3 separate regions of the Homo sapiens genome follow, and regions 1 and 3 are each linked to region 2. Evidence: promoter capture Hi-C in human tissues and cell types (Jung and others, 2019). All regions are on one chromosome and are shown on one strand. The core of a region is centred on a gene start or on the middle of the fragment in contact, and the rest is flanking DNA. Distances in the headings are between cores, read along the strand shown. Region 1 holds the start of LOC105375669 (a long non-coding RNA gene). Region 2 holds the start of YWHAZ (tyrosine 3-monooxygenase/tryptophan 5-monooxygenase activation protein zeta). Region 3 overlaps GRHL2 (grainyhead like transcription factor 2).

The links. The method cuts DNA at HindIII sites, captures the fragments that hold promoters and counts their contacts. A contact is called where the count stands out against the background at its distance.
Region 1: a contact is called between a fragment that was not itself captured here and the fragment with the promoter of YWHAZ in region 2, in 1 of the 25 tissues and cell types used here (lymphoblastoid cells).
Region 3: a fragment that was not itself captured here is called in contact with the fragment with the promoter of YWHAZ in region 2 in 1 of the 25 tissues and cell types used here (mesendoderm cells).

The regions. Positions count from the first base shown.
Region 1 is chr8:100,218,109-100,221,556 of GRCh38, reverse strand. It overlaps SPAG1 (sperm associated antigen 1), which reads right to left. Exons shown (of 19, transcript NM_003114.5): 13 at 1,126-1,278. It overlaps LOC105375669 (a long non-coding RNA gene), which reads left to right and starts at 1,274. Exons shown (of 3, transcript XR_928450.3): 1 at 1,274-2,458. The HindIII fragment of the contact is 4,864 bases long and covers 1-3,448 here.
Region 2 is chr8:100,950,266-100,953,426 of GRCh38, reverse strand. YWHAZ (tyrosine 3-monooxygenase/tryptophan 5-monooxygenase activation protein zeta) reads left to right here and starts at 1,407. Exons shown (of 6, transcript NM_145690.3): 1 at 1,407-1,498. RefSeq lists enhancers at 1-52, 63-172, 452-1,310, 2,463-2,542, 2,169-3,028 and 1 more and silencers at 313-992, 1,013-1,272, 1,503-2,272, 2,663-2,882. The HindIII fragment of the contact is 8,101 bases long and covers 1-2,800 here.
Region 3 is chr8:101,503,531-101,506,996 of GRCh38, reverse strand. All of the region lies in intron 1 of GRHL2 (grainyhead like transcription factor 2), which reads right to left. Among named protein-coding and RNA genes, the nearest start is that of GRHL2-DT, 13 kb to the right of the region's middle. The HindIII fragment of the contact is 8,369 bases long and covers 1-3,466 here.

The DNA of each region.
Region 1 (3,448 bases), core at 769-3,268, 730 kb after region 2:
CTAGACTAGCATGGGGTACAGTGTAACATATAAATATTTCAGAAGTTACACTTTAAGCAAATGGGATCAGAAAATGTCATACATAACTAGAAATGTTATCCAACTAGTTAATTTTCAAATTTCACCGGAAAGCAATTGATGAAGTCTGGAAGTTTTTACCTTCCCATTCTCACGCTGGGGGTAAATAGGTCATAACATAAATTAGATCCAAATTCTTTGCTATTTCGCCATTATAAATTACTATTCATCCTAGATAAGTGTCTATTTACAAGGGCATATAACAGAAATATCTGGCAGGCTCATGAAGACATCCATTCTCCTCAGGAGAAACAAGAGATATGTTTCCACTGACAGATATGGTGCCAATGAACACCTGCAAATCCTGTGGGAGGAGAGGATTCAACATAGCAGTTTTCACCACATTTTTGGATCTTATTCTATAGCTAGTACTGATTTATTTATTTTATTTTAATTTTTTTTTTTGGAGTTGGAATCTTGCTCCGTTGTCCAGGCTGGAGTGCAGTGGTATGATCTCAGCTCACCGCAATCTCCGCAGCCTGGGTTCAAACAATTCTCCTGCCTCAGCCTCCTGAGTAGCTGGGATTACAGGCGCCCGCCACCACACCTGGCTAATTTTTGTATTTTTAGTTGAGATGGGGTTTCGCCATGTTGGCCAGGCTGGTCTCGAACTCCTGACCTCAAGTGATCCACCCGCCTTGGCCTCCCAAAGTGCTAGGATTACAGGCATCAGCCACCGCACCCAGCTACTAGTACTGATTTTATGATATCTATGTAAATACCCTCTTATCACCACATATATTTAAGCAGCACATATGAGTTATATCCTGTGTTACTAAGACCAAAAAAAAATACTGATTGAACAGTAATAAATGGATCAGAAAACAAATACAAAGGCATTAGAGGACAAGTCAGAATTAATTAAGGGAGAGTCAGAAATTAAGTTAAGGGAGAGAACCATTTGATGTAATGGAATAAAAGAAGGCAATCATTCAGGTGATAAAAGTAACTGATAACACATCTATATTTTGACATGTTCTTGAAGGAGGGGAAGGGAAAAACAGTATAAAACAACTAGATTTTAGGTAGCTGCCTCAGATTAATTACCTGTTAACACTGTCATTTGCTAGCTGGAGTCCACAGTCTATCTGCAACACTGTTTTATAATCCACATAAGCTTTCCCATACTGCTCTAGAGTTTCATAGGCCATCGCCCGCCTCAGAAGAGGTTTCATAGAGAATGGATGAAGTTCCAGAGCCCTAAAGAAGACAAAAATATTACATACCATTTGTTTTGAAAAATGCTCTTTCGTTTATACTTCACTGAATAGATACTGCAGTACTGAACTCTCAAATATGTACACATCCGAGACTTCGTCTTGGGAACCAGGCAACATGCCAGAAAGGCAAACCCAGAGTAAGAAAGCAATCATATTTGTGTTCCTTTCTTTTAAACCAGTAGCAAAGCACTCTGCATTTACTCTTTCCCACTGAGCCGGGAGCTCCCTGGCAGCATGTCCTGGCCTCCCCAGTCCCCTAACAGAGCAGCATGGCACAAGGCACACAGCAGGGTTTCAACAGATTGTCGTTGACAGATTAAAATGAAAATTCTTATTTGCACCTATGTATTTAATAATAAAGTACAGAACCATAAAAGTTGCATCACATTTTGAAAATCGGCACTCTAAAACTTATTAGTTCATTATGATTCACTTGCTGCAAAAGGGCTTCAAAAACAGACCAAAGGGGAATCAAGGAACTAAACCTACAATGATTTCTTCTAAGTTATGAATTTTCATCTTGCACGTTTTAGTCTATGAAGTGTTTCCAATATCACTAAAGATGTATCTCATGGTTGTGTTTTTTGGTTTTGTTTGAAGTGTTTAAAGCTACTTCAGCATTTAACGTACTTCATTATATTCTGAAGTAAAACAATAAAAAAACTGTACATATAATCCTCGATTTACAATATGGTTATGTCCCAATAATCCCATGGTAAACTGAAAATATGTTAAGTCAAAAGGCAGCGCAGAGCCTTTGGTTAAGGAATCACAAATCTGTATTTATGAATGAAAACTATAGTACTCTTGGTTTTAACAAAATCAACAGAAGCTGCAAAGAAGTCCTCCATGCAGAGATCCTATGAAGAGCCTCCTTTCTATATAACCTAACTAACATCTGCACCAGACTGTCCACATTGAAGATGGTGGATTTATTCTTTCAACTCATGCTATAAACAGTTAATATAACAAGTATTTAACTTTCCAGGAAAGCATGAGCAAGGGCTGCTTTCTTTAACTTGCTGTTTTTCCGATACTCTTAGAAATCTGCTGTCTATTCCTGTCTACAATGATTCAGCAATGAGGAAACATTGACAGAGTATCTGCTATGTGCTAGTCACTGTAGACTTCCCCATCTAATCTCACAACAAACCTGTCAGGTAAATATTAATATGTTCATTATGTGGGTGAAGAAACAGAAACATGAGGAGTGACATGCCCACAGGTCAGTTCTTTCTAATGTGAGCTTCAGGAAGGCAATTGGCATTGCCTGTCCTGAGCACCACTATATTCCCAGTCCTAGATCACCTGGGTCATGAGAGGCACTCAGCAAACTTCTCTGTGAGCCCTCAAAAGCCTACACTCTGCCTACCGCAGTACACATACAAACACTGCAAATGAAGGAACTCTTGAGTCATTTGCCACTCAGACCACATCATACAGATACTCAGCTGCACTTGTGGGAGCCCTTCTGGCATATCATAGAAGTTACTCTAGAAATGCTGTTAAACCTAATCTGCTTCACTTCTCTGAAAAAATAACCAATTTCACTCTGCCTAGGTGTTAGGATTGTGAGTGATTTTAATGATAGTCTTTGTGCTGTGCTAGTTTTTTCTTAAGTTTTCTATAATAGGTAAGTGGTTTTTTAAAACAGTAAATGTTATTTAAAATATAAAATTAAAATCAAGTAAACATATTTCAACACTAGAAAATAGATCTGTGGGCATCAGGATCTGTCACCTGTACCACTGCCTTAAATTTAGCTTAGTTTAATGTTTAGGTAATATTAACTCTATGAGCAGAGTCACAACCATGTGACTACCTTCACTTCACAGAAGACTTCCAATGACCAAGGTGCCATTTATCTATTCAAGATGGCCTTAAGCCAAGCTTGGGATCTAAAACTGATGAGATGCTGTATTAATTTTTAGCACTTTCTGCCCAGTAAATTTATTTCTTTAACTACAATCCTGAAAATGAATATGAACTTATGAATGGAAATTCCATTAAGGAAAAAAACCACCCATGTATAAAAATAAGCACAGAGAACTTTTGAAGCAGAGCTTACAAAAGAGGCTATCTATTCAAGGTAACACAGTTAAGACCCTAAAAAATCTTCCAATTTCAAGACTGTGAGAGTAGCAAAGATA
Region 2 (3,161 bases), core at 158-2,657:
CCCTACCGGTTCAGGCACCTGCAATTTCCGCCTTTCTCCTTCCCCTTCTTCCGGGCTCCCGTCCCGGCTCATCACCCGGCCTGTGGCCCACTCCCACCGCCAGCTGGAACCCTGGGGACTACGACGTCCCTCAAACCTTGCTTCTAGGAGATAAAAAGGTAATGATCGTCATGTGCAGTATGAGGTCTTCACGTGAAAGCTTTATTTGGGTAGGAAAACCTAGCCTACGAGAAACGGGTCCGTGCGGTCACGCCTGACTGCCTGTCTCCGGGTCAAGGCTGCCAGGACCAGCTCCAGCCCTCCGCCCGAGAAGGCTGTCCTTTCCCCTCGGAACTCTGGCTTCCCTAAAGCGGCCGCGCCTCCTTCCAGGCCTCACCTCCTGCCGGCTCCGCCCGGCCCGGCCCACCTCGCCCCCACCTCGGCGCCCACCCATTGTCCCCTCGCGCAGTCACCGAGCGCAGATCCCGCGCTCTCGATTGGAACGCCTCCCCATCACTCAGCCACACTCAGGGGCTGGACGCCTCACTCCCGTTTCCGAGCCATAAAAGGTCTAGGACCGCTTCCCCCGAGCCAGCAGGTAAAGCCGCGGCGGCGGGAGGGAGGCCGGGAGGGGCCGCGCGCCCCGGTCGGCCCAGCCGGGGAAGGGGAGCGGCGGGCGGGGCGGGGGGCAGCGCACCACACACAACCCTCCCTTGCCGTGCGACCGCGCCCTGCCCCCGCCCCGGGGCCCCCGCCCCGCAAGTCCTGATCACAATGCCGGAGCCGCCGAGCCACCCTTGTCATCCTGCCCGGGGACGGCCCTGGGGCAGTTACTACCGCGAAGCACGGAGGGTGGGGCGGGCCGGGCCTCGGGGAGGGGTGGGGGGATGTGAAAGGTCCCGGATGTTGCTGAACGGGAGCCCCTTCCAGAGGGAGTGACTGGGGCAAGCGCAGACGGGCTGAGCGAAAGCTAAGGTGGGGGTAGGGAGAGAACGCCTTCCCGCCGGCTGAGAGGAAGAGTGGGCCGGCAGAGGCTGCAGGGGAGAGGGAGAGAGAGGGCGTTGGGGACCCAAAGGGAAGGCGAGGAGTGGGGGATTTGCGTTGGGGAGGAAAAGGAAAAAAGCAGCCTCCTGCCCTAGGTGCACTCGGGACAAGCGTAGAGGAGCTGGAAGCCGAGCGGGGTGGGAGGAGTGGCGGCTGCGGGCGAGGACGCGCGCGCCTCCGCTCGCCCTCCAGCGCGGGCGGGCAGGACGAGCGCCGGGGAGCGGCGGTTACGCGGGGCCCCGATCGCTGTGGGCACCAATCAACGGTTGCCATAGCAGCGTTTGACGTCATCGTGCGTGTGGTGCCCCTGCTGCCGGGGCTGGTGATTGGAGGAAACCCCGTGTCTGCGGAGCGGCTGTAGCCTGTGAGCAGCGAGATCCAGGGACAGAGTCTCAGCCTCGCCGCTGCTGCCGCCGCCGCCGCCCAGAGACTGCTGAGCCCGTCCGTCCGCCGCCACCACCCACTCCGGACACAGGTGAGGAACCCGGCCGCCGCCGCGCCTCGCTTCCTGTCCCAGGCCAGCCTTCCGAACGCGTGGGAGCCGTCCTCGCTCCGTCCCCTCATCCCCACTCGCCCCGCGGTGGCGGCGCCGGGCTGAGGCGGAGTCTCCTCAGCGGACACGGGCGGCGGCTCCTCTTCCGCTGGGCTCGGGAGGGCGGCTAGCGGCCGCCTCCGGCTCCTTGCTTCCGCATCGACGCCCCGGCGCCGATCGGTGCTCGCTCCCCCGTCCTGCCCCCGGGGGTGGGTAGGGCGCCCACACGCGAGATCCCTGGGGATCTCCCTGTCGCCGGCTCCCGAAGGTGGACGAGGCATGGCCGGGGCGCCGCCGGCCGCGATCCATCCCCACCCTTGTCTCTGCGGGCTTCCACCCCCTCCCTCGCCGCCCTTCTCGCTTCCGCCCGAGATAATGACTCGGCGGCGGCGGCGGCGGGCATCGCAGTGGCGCAGGTGAGGCCGCCCCCTCCCCTCTCCCTCGGCCGCCCCCTCCTTTCCCTCCCCCTCGCGCAGCCTCCGCGCTGGGCGCTGCGGCGGCGGGACCCGGCCCTCCCCCACCCCGGGAGGCGGTGGCGCGGCGGGGAGGGGCCGGGGGCCTCGGGGACCCAAGCGCGAGGGAAAGGCCTGGCCGAGAGCGGGCCGGAGCCCAGGCCTGGCGCGGCGGCGCCCGCCAGGTAGACCGGGGCGAGGCTGCGCGCCGGCGGGAGGGGAGTCCACTGCGGGGTGAGGTTTTGGGGTGGGGCTCGCCTGGGACCTAGAGCTGAATTTCCTGGGCTCCGCGGTGGGAGGAAGGACTTGAATTTTCCTGGTGGGGGTGGGGGATGGGTCTGACTTTTTTTGCTCCTTGTGAACGGGCGGGGGAGGTGTGGACGGGGGCTGCAAGTCCAGGTCGGGGTAGAGAACAGGGTGGTGAGCCCGCAGTCGGCTCCCGTGCTTGATGGACTAGAACTGGAGGGTCCCTGCGCTCGGTTTGGGGACGCATATCCTGCTTTGGGGGCGGGTGAGCCTGAGCATAGCCGCTGGTGGCCCGCTCGGCTGGGTGTGGCTCTCGTCCCCTCCCCCACCTGCAGCTGTCGGTCCCTTAGAGACGCTGTACACGGTCACCGGCGCTGATCGGTGGCGGGGAAGGCGCTGGGTGGGAGAGCGGGGTGTGTCCGCGGCGGGGCTGGTAGTGGTTCCGCTTCTGCGGGCTGCTGTGGCGTCTCTGCCCCGGGGTCGGGCGGCTTCGCTCCCCATCTCTCCCCCCCCCCCACGGCTTGGGCGGGGGCGCGGGCTGCTCCTCCCTCTGGCTCCGGTCGGGGGGAGGAATTAACACTCTGCAGTAGGTTGGGCTCCCTGACACAGATCCGCCATGACAAAGGAGGAGAGTCGGGGACTTGAGCCGTGGCTCCGACTTGGGCGGAGCCTGGAGGGGGGTGGTTGCGATACGCGGACCGGAGAATTTGCACTTTAAAGTCCGGGTCTGCCCGTTTTCGTTTCACAGTAACCGACGTCTCAAGTCAGGTAAGGGTTAAATGGGTGCGGTGAGTCCTGCCCGCAGTGTAGAGGCGAGGCCTTGGAGCACTCGTTACTGTGTGAGAAACCTTATCCACTTCCTCTTGTACCGAAGTGATTGGGGAGAGAATCCTTTGTACTGGCTTAAA
Region 3 (3,466 bases), core at 351-2,850, 550 kb before region 2:
CCCCCTCAGCCAAGTTCCCTCTCCTCCAGAACATAACACAATCATAGGTAGTAGCCAGGGTAAAAGCAAGAGCTTCACTAAAAAGAAATACAAATTACAAAATAAAAATCTGAGAAAATGTTTAATCTCTTTAACTATCAAATTGCAATTTTTTTTTTTTTGCCTTGCAAATAAACAAATTACAATTGTCATTTACTGGTGAGACAATGAGAAAAAGACACCCTCAAACACTGTTGGTAGAACACAAATTGTTAAAATCTTTCTAGGAGTCATTTTCAAATTATGTATCAATGACCTAAAAATATTTATGTCTCCTGTTCTTATACTTCCAGAAATCTATTCTACAGTAATAACCGGAGATAAAAACCTTTACATATAAACATGATTTATTATACTGAAAAGTCAAAACAACATAAATATTAAAAATAGGAGGTGGTAGATTTCACCTTTAAATGCTATGTACGAGAATACTTAAGGGATTGGTAAAGTACCAATAGTATAGTATTAAGTGGAAAATGCAGAATGGCATGAATGATGTAAAAAAGAGAATCATAATTTGCACACTCTTTGTAAAACCACATTGATATACTATGCATGCACATATTAGAAACTGTAAGAAAAGACAAAGTATTAACAGGGTGCTGGAATTATGAGTGATTTTTCTTCTAGATACTTGTTTCTATTTTCCAATTTTTCCCCATAAGCATATATTATTTTCATAACCAGAAAAAGAAACCTCCCAGGAAATGCTTCTTTAAAAAGTAAACACATACAATGCAAAACTGTATCATAAAACAGTTGCAATAAAAGTCAGCCTGGGCAATAGCATTGAAAGCTAGGAGGCAGGTCATTCACAAATGCTTCACAACAGCAATTTATAAAATAATTCATTAAATATGCAGTACAATAAAAATCTCTGTATCATAAAAACATTTTCAACTTCTTCCACACTCTAGAACTATTTGCTACAATGACAACATCAAAATCTAGTTAGCCCTGAAAGCTCTAAATAGCATGTTTAATTTTGTTCTTCTTTCCAAGCACACTTGGATACGCTGCAGCGGAAAAACTTGGAGCTTGTAATTCAACGTGTCCTGGGATTCGACCACATGGGTATTTTATTGCTTAGGAAGGATTATGAAGGCTAACAAGCATAACGATACTACTGCTGCACCAGTTCAACTTCAGGATGTTAAAAGTGATAAACGACTTGTGTCCCAAATTTTGTGAACAAAATCGAAATGCAAATTTGTGTTTTTCATGTGGCTGAATATGATACAAAACATACCTTATAGAATGTTTGCTAAAACTAAAGATAAACACAAGATAAAAGGAGACTGTAGTCCTTCCCTCAACCCTCCCACAAGCCCCGTAAGGATAGGTGCCTTTATTTACACTGTTTTTTTTTTTTTTTTTTTTGAGACAGAGTTTCACCCTTGTTGCCCAGGCTGGAGTACAGTGGTGCAATCTCGGCTCACTGCAACCTCCGCGTCCCAGGTTCAAGAGATTCTCCTGACTCAGCCTCCCGAGTAGCTGGGATTACAGGCATGGACCACCACATCCGGCTAATTTTGTATTTTTAATAGAGATGGGGTTTCTTCATGTTGGTCAGGCTGGTCTCAAACTCCCGACCTAAGGTGATCCACCCGCCTCGGCCTCCCTAAGTGCTGGGATTATAGGCATGAGCCACCACGCCCGGCCCATTTAGACTTTTAACATCCGAAGAACATCATGATTTTTTAAAAATATTAGATATAGTATTTGAGGTTTGAAGAATTTCTATACAATATGAAGAAAAGGATGGGGGAGGGGAGGGCCAGTTGGGAGTGGGAGAGAAGGGGCAATTGCAAATTCACTTTTGAGCACACGGCCAAAATGTATACCTACTAGTTCCTGTTTCACCACCTCTGTGTTTATTCCGCAGCCGAAGATTGCTTTGGTTTTGCTCACATTTTACAAAAGTTCATTTCCACCTTTTTTTTGTTGTTGTATTTTTAGCCTCCTCTTTTTTTTTTTTTTTTCCTAATGCAATGTTGGCAACTTCAGTGACTCTGGGAGGCCAGTTTCCCCAGCAAGTTCCCATCAGGTACTTTTTGTTCCCTGCTGTGGATGCTTCTTGGATAGGTTGATAAGCAAAGAAGTTCACGTTGGCGACAACACTTCCATTAAAGACGCGTGCAGTAAATCCTATGATGCAATCTCCTGCAGCTTAACTAGCAGACCCAAGCTGGTCTGGCATGATCTATGCACCAGCTTGCAGAAGCAGTCAGATGAGTCACTGTGTGGCCCTCCAGGGAGAAGCAAGTCTATACTCTAAAAAAAATATAAATTTTTATTCTAGAAAATACAAAAAAAAAACCCGACCTTGCCTACAACTACCTTTTGTTTTTAAAGGAAGTCATATTCCAGGCTCTCCCTGTCCCTTCAAAAAAGCTCAAAACTGGACCCAACACCAAGTCTCTCCCATGAACATTCAGGCGGGGTCTGAGGTGGTGAGGCCAGCAGGTTTGCCTCGAGAGAGTTTGCTTCAAGTGAAACTCCATAGGCACATGCAGCCCACTGAGTGGAACAAACTGAGTTTCTTTCATTCTTAGTCATTCCTCAGCTTCAAATTATACACATGTTGGAAACTTATACACCTACTTTTGCTATTTTGAAAAATCACTGGATTTAATGATTGGACTTAACACATATGCAAATCTAAAAGGACAAGGTTGTGGAGACACAGATAATGAATCTACAGGTCACTAAGGAATAGCACAGAACCGACAGGCAGCATGCCAGCGTGAAGGGCAGCGTGGCATTCCTGGGACAGAGAGGAGAGGGCAGGGATTTCTGCAGGGGATCGGGTCAATTCTACCTGCAACAAGCAAGCAGCAAGTAGGCTTTTCCGTTTTATTTAGAGAAGTGTGTATTATTCTTAAGTGTCTCCACTTAATAACTATTTTTATATACAACCTTTAATTTTTTTAAATACATACATACATAAATACATAAATGCATAAATAAAATTTATCCTTAATTACAAAAGCAGTGCAAGCTCACATCAGCACAATAGGAAAACACAGAGAAACACTAACAGACAAAAAAGTACCTTTATTTTATACTTAAGAGAGAAAACCACTGTTAACTTTTTGTGTTTTTTCTGAATTCTTTATTCTTCATCTTTTTATGCCTATAAACATTCTGATATAATACATCATGAACACTTTCTCTTATCATTAAGGATTTTTTCATTAATGTGATGTGTAATGCTTGCATAGTGTCCCATCATCTCACTAAACCATGATTTACTAAACCAACCCTTGATAGCCAGGCTTTTAGGGTTATACTGATTTTTCACTTTTAAAAATCATGTGGCACTTTATATCTTTAGTTATGTCTTTAAGACAAATCCCTGAAACTGGAATTTAGTTATCAATGGGTAGACCCATTTCAACCAGTTTTGCCAAACTGCCTTCCAGAA